3 separate regions of the Homo sapiens genome follow, and all the other regions are linked to region 1. Evidence: promoter capture Hi-C in human tissues and cell types (Jung and others, 2019). All regions are on one chromosome and are shown on one strand. The core of a region is centred on a gene start or on the middle of the fragment in contact, and the rest is flanking DNA. Distances in the headings are between cores, read along the strand shown. Region 1 holds the start of AKAP14 (A-kinase anchoring protein 14). Region 2 holds the start of NKRF (NFKB repressing factor). Region 3 has its middle 13 kb from the start of SLC25A43.

Evidence for each region. The method cuts DNA at HindIII sites, captures the fragments that hold promoters and counts their contacts. A contact is called where the count stands out against the background at its distance.
Region 2: the fragment with the promoter of NKRF here is called in contact with the fragment with the promoter of AKAP14 in region 1 in 1 of the 25 tissues and cell types used here (adrenal gland).
Region 3: a contact is called between a fragment that was not itself captured here and the fragment with the promoter of AKAP14 in region 1, in 1 of the 25 tissues and cell types used here (pancreas).

What each region holds. Positions count from the first base shown.
Region 1 is chrX:119,894,506-119,897,205 of GRCh38, forward strand. AKAP14 (A-kinase anchoring protein 14) reads left to right here and starts at 1,388. Exons shown (of 7, transcript NM_178813.6): 1 at 1,388-1,482; 2 at 1,650-1,762. The HindIII fragment of the contact is 18,586 bases long and covers 1-2,700 here.
Region 2 is chrX:119,604,998-119,607,697 of GRCh38, forward strand. NKRF (NFKB repressing factor) reads right to left here and starts at 1,427. Exons shown (of 4, transcript NR_163972.1): 1 at 734-1,427. RefSeq lists a silencer at 961-1,010 and an enhancer at 1,551-1,660. The HindIII fragment of the contact is 14,426 bases long and covers 1-2,700 here.
Region 3 is chrX:119,384,896-119,387,595 of GRCh38, forward strand. No RefSeq gene overlaps it. Among named protein-coding and RNA genes, the nearest start is that of SLC25A43, 13 kb to the right of the region's middle. The HindIII fragment of the contact is 4,136 bases long and covers 1-2,700 here.

The sequences.
Region 1 (2,700 bases), core at 138-2,637:
TCCTCTACCTGCTCTTTTTCTCTTGCAACATGTGGATTCAATCATGTGACCATACCTTCCCTCTCTTCCCTCAAGCTCGCATTTCCCCTTTATTATTATTATTTATTATTATTATTATTGTTATTATTTGAGACGGAGTCTAGCTCTTGTTGCCCAGGTTGGAGTGCAGTGGTGCAATCTTGGCTCACTGCAACCTCTACTTCCCGGGTTCAAGCGATTCTCCTGCCTCAGCCTCCCAAGTAGCTGGGATTACAGGTGCCCCCCACCATGCCCAGCTAATTTTTGTATTTTTGGTAGAGACAGGGTTTCACCATATTGGCCAGGCTGGTCTCCAACTCCTGATCTCAGGTGATCTGCCTGCCTTGGTCTCCCAAAGTGCTGGGATTACAAGCGTGAGCCACTGCACCTGCCCTTGCATTTCTCCTTTAAATACTGAAGCCTAGGCCGGGCGTGATGGCTCAGGCCTGTAATCCCAGCACCATCAGAGGCCGAGGTGCATGGATCGCCTAAGGTCAAGAGTTCGAGACCAGCCTGACCAACATGGTGAAATCCCGTCTCTATTAAAAATACAAACACTAGCTGGGTGTGGTGGCAGGAGCCTGTAATCCCAGCTACTTGGGAGGCTGAGGCAGCAGAATCGCTTGAACCCGGGAGGCAGAGGTGGCAGTGAGCCAAGATCGTGCCATTGCACTCCAGCCTGGGCAACAAGAGTGAAACTCCATCTCAAACAAACAAACTAAAACCTGAAGCCTGGCCAGGTGGGGTGGCTCATGGCTGTAATCCCAGCACTTTGGGAGGCTGGGGCAGGAGGATAGCTTGAGCTCAGGAGTTCGAGACCAGCCTGGGCAACAGAGCGAGACCTTGTCTCTACAAATAATTTAAAAATTGGCCAGGTGTGGTGGTGGCACACCTATAGTCCCAGCTACCTGGGAGGCTGAGGTGGGAGAATCACTTGAGCCCAGGCAGTGGAGGCTGGGGTGAGCCATGACTGTGCCACTGCATTTCAGCCTGGGTGACAGTGAGACCCTGTCTTTAAATAAATAAATAAATACTGAAGCCCTCAAAGTCATCTTTGGAGAAAGGCACAGACCTGTCTCCCAGACACATCCTTAACCTTGGCAAAATAAACTGGTAAATTGAGACCTGTTTCAGATACTTTTTGGTTTGCAAAGCAATGAAGTACACATGGGAAGTCCTAACCTCAGAATTTGGAAATGAAAAAGTAAAAGCTCAGCCAAAGAAGTCAGCTTTGGGTGTGAGTTTGGGACAGTACTTTCTGTACCTCAGTCTGTTCAACTGCAATATGCAAATACTAATACCTCATAATGCTATTGTGAGGAGTAAATGACTTCAGACACTGAAGGCTTAACACAGTGACTGGCATATCATAGGGATGCCCAATACATACCAGCTGTGAGGCTTATCACCACTGTTCTTCCTGGCATGGCCCTGTAAGCTCATCTTCGGCTGAAGAGAAGCTAGGTATAGCTACTACAGTTTGGTCCTATTATTGCGGTCAGACAGTTGCTGTGATTGGCTCTCCCCTCCTTCCCTCACCCCCTCCCATCTTACCCTCTGTTATTAACATAAGCAGTCAGAAACATGTAGGCTATGCTTCCCATTGGTTGAAATTGTTGTTTCCTTGGCAGCACTTGCAAACATTCCATCTGGCAATCTGAGAGAAGCTACTGAGAGAATCCTGAGACATCCCCAGCCACCTACCACTGCTCCTGTTCCAAGCAAAGAAGATCTGCTCACTCCGGTACTGGGGATTCTCCGGGGTGGGGGAGTCCACAGAAAGGACTTGCAGTGGTTCTCCCTATTCATCACCCAGACCCCAAACGTTACCATTCCCCCCATCTCTTCCTACCCACCCTGCCTATCTGGCCTCTGAGAAGGGGAGGGGAGGAGAGGGGAGGGGAGGGGAGGGGAGGACAAGGGAGAGGGAGGGGGAGGGGAGGGGAGCGGAGGGGAGGGGAGAGGAGGGGAGGGAAGGGAAGAAAAATAACTAGGAGATGCCAGTGGGAGGGAGGCTTAAGAATGGTGTGGGCCCACAGACGTGTGAGGGTAAAAATTGAGCTTCTTCCTGGGCACTGCTCCCCATCTTCCCTCTCCTGTTGGAGCACAGGCTCCCCAGGGAAAGTCTTAAGGAGGTCCTTCCATGCATAAAGCACACACCCCATGTGCTTCGTGTTGGAGGTCACAGATTTGACTTCTCATCGATTTATCAATAGGAAATTTGCTGAAAGCAAAGTTACTGAATGTCCAAGTTACCAAATGGGCAATTTTCTTTTCTTTTCTTTTTTTCTTTTTTTTTTTTTTTGAGACAGAGTCTCGCTCTGTCGCCTAGGCTGGAGTGCAGCAGCGCGATCAAGGCTCACTGCAACCTCCGCCTCTGGTTTCAAGTGATTCTCCTGCCTCAGCCTCCCGAGTAGCTGGGACGACAGGCATGCACCACCATGCCTGGCTAATTTTTGTATTTTTAGTAGAGACGGGATTTTGCCATGTTGGCCAGGCTGGTTTCGAACTCCTGACCTCAGGTAATCCTCCCACATTGGCCTTCCAAAGTGCTGGGATTACAGGTGTGAGCCACCGCGCCCGGCCCCAAATGGACAATTTTCTTTCTTTCTTTTCTTCTTTCCTTCTTTCTCTCTTTCTTTCTTTTCTTTTTTGAGGTGGAGTTGCACTCTGTTGCCCAGG
Region 2 (2,700 bases), core at 177-2,676, 290 kb before region 1:
ACTCAGAGCCAAATGTTAATCCTTCTGATCCCATTTAGGGTAAAAAGAGGGCAATCCATTTTTACAGTAGATATATCCATTTCTTTGTTTGAGTCCAGACACATTATGCGCAAATCTACAAGCAAGGCTGACGCTGCTGCGGCTCAGAGAGCTGATACGTACCGCCTCCCCAGGAGAAGACAGTAAGACCCTGCTAGGGGGCTGCAAGTAGAGGGGGGTATTTAAGAGGAATGGAAAAAGAGAGTGGTCAGGAGGAGACTAGAACAGTGGGGTCCCCTCGCCCTTCCCCCACAACTCCAACTGTCGAATATATTCTCTGCGGATACTGCATCCTTGGAAGGCCCTACGCAGGTCCGAGATGCTGCTATTCATCATTCCCCACGTCCTCTAATACCGCCACCAACTACAATGACCACCTCTCAATAATCCTCTTCTAGGCGCTGCTTCATCTCCATCCCTGGTCCTGGAGAGGCCGCTTCCGCGATCTCTGCACCCTCCTAGCTGTTATGTCATGCCCAGCCACCACAGTCGGCCACCCCACCCCCAGGCCAATAGTGATCCCTCTAGTGCCCTCCAGCACCTCCAAATCTCCAGCCTCCAACCTATCCTCCGCATCCCGCCCCCGTCCCTATCCCAACCACCATCATCGATCCCTCCAGCGCCGTCCCTAACCCGATCCCCCATCACCGATCTCTCACCCCCGTCCCTAACCCGACACCCACACCTTCCTCACCTGCAGCCCAGGAAGACGTGGTTGGTCCAGGCGGCGGAGAGCGCGAGGAGCTGGTCGAGGGCAGCCCCGGGATAGCTGTGCAGGTGCCGACAGATGAAGCTGCGCCGCAGAGCCCACTGCCAGTCACTTTCGTGGCTATAGCGCCACTGCTCCAGCACTGGCTCGGGCGGGGGCGGCGGGAGGGGCGGCAGCGGCGGCGGCGGGAGGGGGGGCAGCGGCGGCGCGACAGGAAGTCGCCCCCCAACAGCAGACGTCCTCCAGCCATCTTCTCCGCCCCCAAGCAGGGACCCCAGGGACGAAGCCGACTACGGACCGCGAGCTAGGCAGCTAGCAAGCGGGCGGAAACGGGGGGCCGGTGGGAGGGGCCGGGTAAGGAGGGGCGCGCTGAGGGGAGAAGATCAACTCTCGGGGGGACTGGAGTGTGTGCGTGGGGGCCACCGTTAGGAGGAAAAGAGGAGCACGAGCTCGCGTCCCGACACTGGGATGCACGTCCCCTACACTCCTCTAACTCGTGGAGGAGCAGAAGGGCTTCCGCCGCACTCACGCGCGAGCCGGGGAGGCCGAGTCAGGCTCCGCACCTCCACGGATCCGCAGACCCACGCACTGCGCGGAGAGCGATAAAAGACCCCAGCACGCTCTGCTCCCCTCCTCTAGGTTCTAGCCTACCTACCCGCGTGCCGTCCGGGGTTGTGAGGCCAGTGCGCTTGCGCCGCGGCTGTTCCCTAACTTCCAAATCCCGTCGCAGAATCTCGCGCGACGTACTTTTTTCCCTCCAGTGACGACTACGGGCCTTTGACGCACTACGGTGACAAGCGGAGGGCGGGGACTCCAGAAAGGGAATTTAGGAAGGTTCTCTGAGGTTCGAGAATATGGTTAGAAGGTGCCCTCAGATGAATGTTGGTAGCCCACGGCTCGTCTGACGCTTTTCCCTGGATTTTTAAGCGGCGCGACAGTGAGACCATGTTCCTTGTAAGGGATTTAGGTCTGCACTGGACTTTACATTAAAACAAAACAAAACAGTCAGCTCCCCGAGGTGCCTTTTCTTCAGAGAGTAGCTTGAAATGCTCTGTGCATCGTGCATCATTAGCTTTGTGTAATAGCTTACTGCGGAAACGTAGTAAAAATGAAACACTTGCCAAGAAAATCATCCACAGCGCCGCTTCTCAAGTTAGCCAGTTTCAAGTCCATACTGTATCCCAATTACGAACACAGATACTGTTTACACAGTTCTGATCACGATTGCAAGTCTGTATTTCACGTATCAACTTAAGTGCAAAAGATTACAAGATACAAAAGGGGCCCACAGAAGAGGGTACTGCAAGGTAGAGCCGCTCAATCACTGTAGCCAAATGTATCACTCCACCCGGAGTCAGCTTCACTCAATAACTTCAGTCCCTATCTGCCAACCTGTGTCACGAAAGCAGTTAATCAATGAGTGTCTGTCGGCGGGAATTTACACAGCACCTACTGTGTGCTCAATACAGCAAGAGTACAAAAAAGAAGGAAAGAAAGTGGGTTTTCTCTGTTGTCCTGGAATTGACTACAATCTTGGTGGGGAGAAATAGCCCTGCATAAAACTAAATGTTCCACCAGGAGCCGGACCATTGGATGAGGTGGCTTTAACACACTACCATCTTTAACTCTTTAATGACGTATTTCTAATTATATGACACTTTATGTTAGGGGTGTATTAGACTGAGAGGAGCAGAAGATAACAGCACTTTACACACTTTCATAATTTATTTCCACGTCTGTCTTTCTCCGTGGTGGGCATTCATGTTTATTGGGGTAACAATCGAAATGTTTTTAAAAAGTTCACAAGGTGATACATGCTGTGAAGAAAATAAAACAGGCTGGGTGCGGTGGCTCACGCCTGTAATCCCAGCACTTTGGGAGGCCGAGGCAGGAGGATTACTTGAGGTCAGGAGTTCGAGACCAGCCTGGCCAACATGGTGAAACCCCTGTCT
Region 3 (2,700 bases), core at 105-2,604, 510 kb before region 1:
GGAAGAGGGTTCCCTGAATATCCTATGTGAGTATTCAGGTCTGCTTAACAGTTATAGTTCTCACTGTCAATTAATAAACTGACATTTTGGTTCATATATATCTGTAACTTATGAGTAGAATCATTCATTCATTCATATATTTAACAAATATTTATTGAGTGCCTAGTAGGCTACAGTTTTAAATGCCAAAAATATAGAAGTATACCAAACAGATAAAACCTCTGCCCTCACAGAGCTTACATCTTAGTAGGCTAAAGAGAGACAGATTTTGGCCCAGAGTGGTGGCTCACACCTGTAATCCCAGCACTTTGGGAGGCTGAGGTGGGCGGATCACTTGAGGTTAGGAGTTTGAGACCAGTCTGGCCAACATGGTGAAACCCCATCTCTACTAAAAATACAAAAAATTAGCCACATGTGGTGGTGCATGCCTGTAATCCCAGCTACTCAGGAAGCTGAGGCAGGAGAATTGCTTGAACCCAGGAGGCAGAGGTTGCAGTGAGCCAAGATCGAGCCACTGCACTCCAGCCTGGGCAACAGAGCAGGACTCTGTCAAAAAAAAAAAAAAAAAGAGAGAGAGAGAGAGGTTTTTTTAAGAAAAATATATAGTGTGTCAGATGGATAGTGGTAAATTCTATAGAAAACAAGAAAGCAGGGAAGGGGGACAGAATGTACCAAGGTGGGGGTTACAATTTTAAACAGAGTATTCAGGCCTCACTGGGAAGAAGACATTTGAGCAAATCTCTGAAGGAGGTGAAGAAGCAACCATTCAGATGGCTATGGAAAAGCATTCCAGGCAGAAGAGACACCAAGCGCAGAGGCCTGAGGTGGGGAGTGCCTGGTTTGTTTATGGATCAGCAGAAAGGCCAGTGTGACTGAAGTAGAGTGAACACAGGAGAGAGTAGTGGCGAGGAGTCAGAGAGATAATGTGGGGGCAGTGGGGGGATGAGGGAAAGATTGTGTAGGGCCTTGCAGAGCAGTATTAGGATTTTGGATTTTTGAGATGTAGAGTCATTGGAGGGTTCCAAACAGTGAAGTGACACCATCTGACTTTCATGCTAAAAGGATCAATTGGCCGTATGTGGTGGCTCACGCCTGTAATCCCAGCACTTTGGGCCGAAGTGGAAGGATCACGAGATCAGGAGTTCGAGACCAGCCTGGCCAACATGGTGAAACCCTGTCTCTACTAATACAAAAATTAGTCAGGTGTGGTGCTGTGCACCTGCAGTCCCAGCTACTAGGGAGGCTGAGGCACAAGAATTGCTTGAGCCCGGGAGCAGAGTTTGCAGTGAGCCAGGATCACAACACTGCACTCCAGCCTGGGTGACAGAGTAAGACTATGTCTCAAAAAAAAAAAAAAAAGTTTCCATTTGCCACGATGGGGAAGGCAAGGGAGGGACAGATTTGGTGGGGTAGATCAGGGGTCTCACTTGAGACACTTTATGATTGAGATGCATATGAAATATCTAAGTGGAGCTACTAAAGGGGCCTCTGAACATGGTGTGTCCGGAATTGGTGGGTTCTTGGGTCTCACTGACTTCAAGATTGAAGCCGCGGACCCTCGCGGTGAGTGCTACAGCTCTTAAGGTGGCGCGTCTGGAGTTTGTTCCTTCTGATGTTCGGATGTGTTCAGAGTTTCTTCATTCTGGTGGGTTCGTGGTCTTGCTGGCTCAGAAGTGAAGCTGCAGACCTTCGCGGTGAGTGTTACAGCTCTTAAAGAAGCACGTCTGGAGTTGTTCGTTCCTCCGGTGGGCTTGTGGTCTCGCTGGCTTCAGGAGTGAAGCTGTAGATCTTCCCAGTGAGTCTTACAGCTCATAAAAGCAGTGTGGACCAAAAGAGTGAGCAGTAGCAATAGCAAGATTTACTGCAAAGAGGAAAAGAACAAAGCTTCCACACTATGGAAAGGGACCCACGTGGCTTGCCACTGCTGGCTCCAGCAGCCTGCTTTTATTCTTTTATCTGGCCCCACCCACATCCTGCTGATTGGTAGAGCCGAGTGGCCTGTTTTGACAGGGCACTGATTGGTGCATTCACAATCCCTGAGCTAGATACAAAGGTTCTCCACGTCCCCATCAGATTAGTTAGACACAGAGTTTCGACACACAGGTTCTCCAAGGCCCCACCAGAGCAGCTAGATACAGAGTGTCAATTGGTGCATTCACAAACCTTGAGCTAAACACAGGGTGCTGATTGGTGTGTTTACAAACCTTGAGCTAGATACAGAGTGCTGATTGGTGTATTTACAATCCCTGAGCTAGACATAAAGGTTCTCCAAGGCCCCACCAGAGCAGCTAGATACAGAGTGTCCATTGGTGCACTCATAAACCTTGAGCTAAACACAGGGTGCTGATTGGTGTGTTTACAAACCTTGAGCTAGATATAGAGTGCCGATTGGTGTATTTACAATCCCTGAGCTAGACATAAAGGTTTTCCAAGGCCCCACCAGAGTAGCTAGATACAGAGTGTCCATTGGTGCATTCACAAACCCTGAGCTAGACACAGGGTGCTGATTGGAGTGTTTACAAACCTTGAGCTAGATACAGAGTGCCGATTGGTGTATTTACAATCCCTGAGCTAGACATAAAGACTCTCCACGTCCCCACCAGACTCAGGAGCCCAGCTGGGTTCACCTAGTGGATCCCGCACTGGGCCTGCAGGTGGAGCTGCCTGCCAGTCCCGCGCCGTGCGCTCGCATTCCTCGGT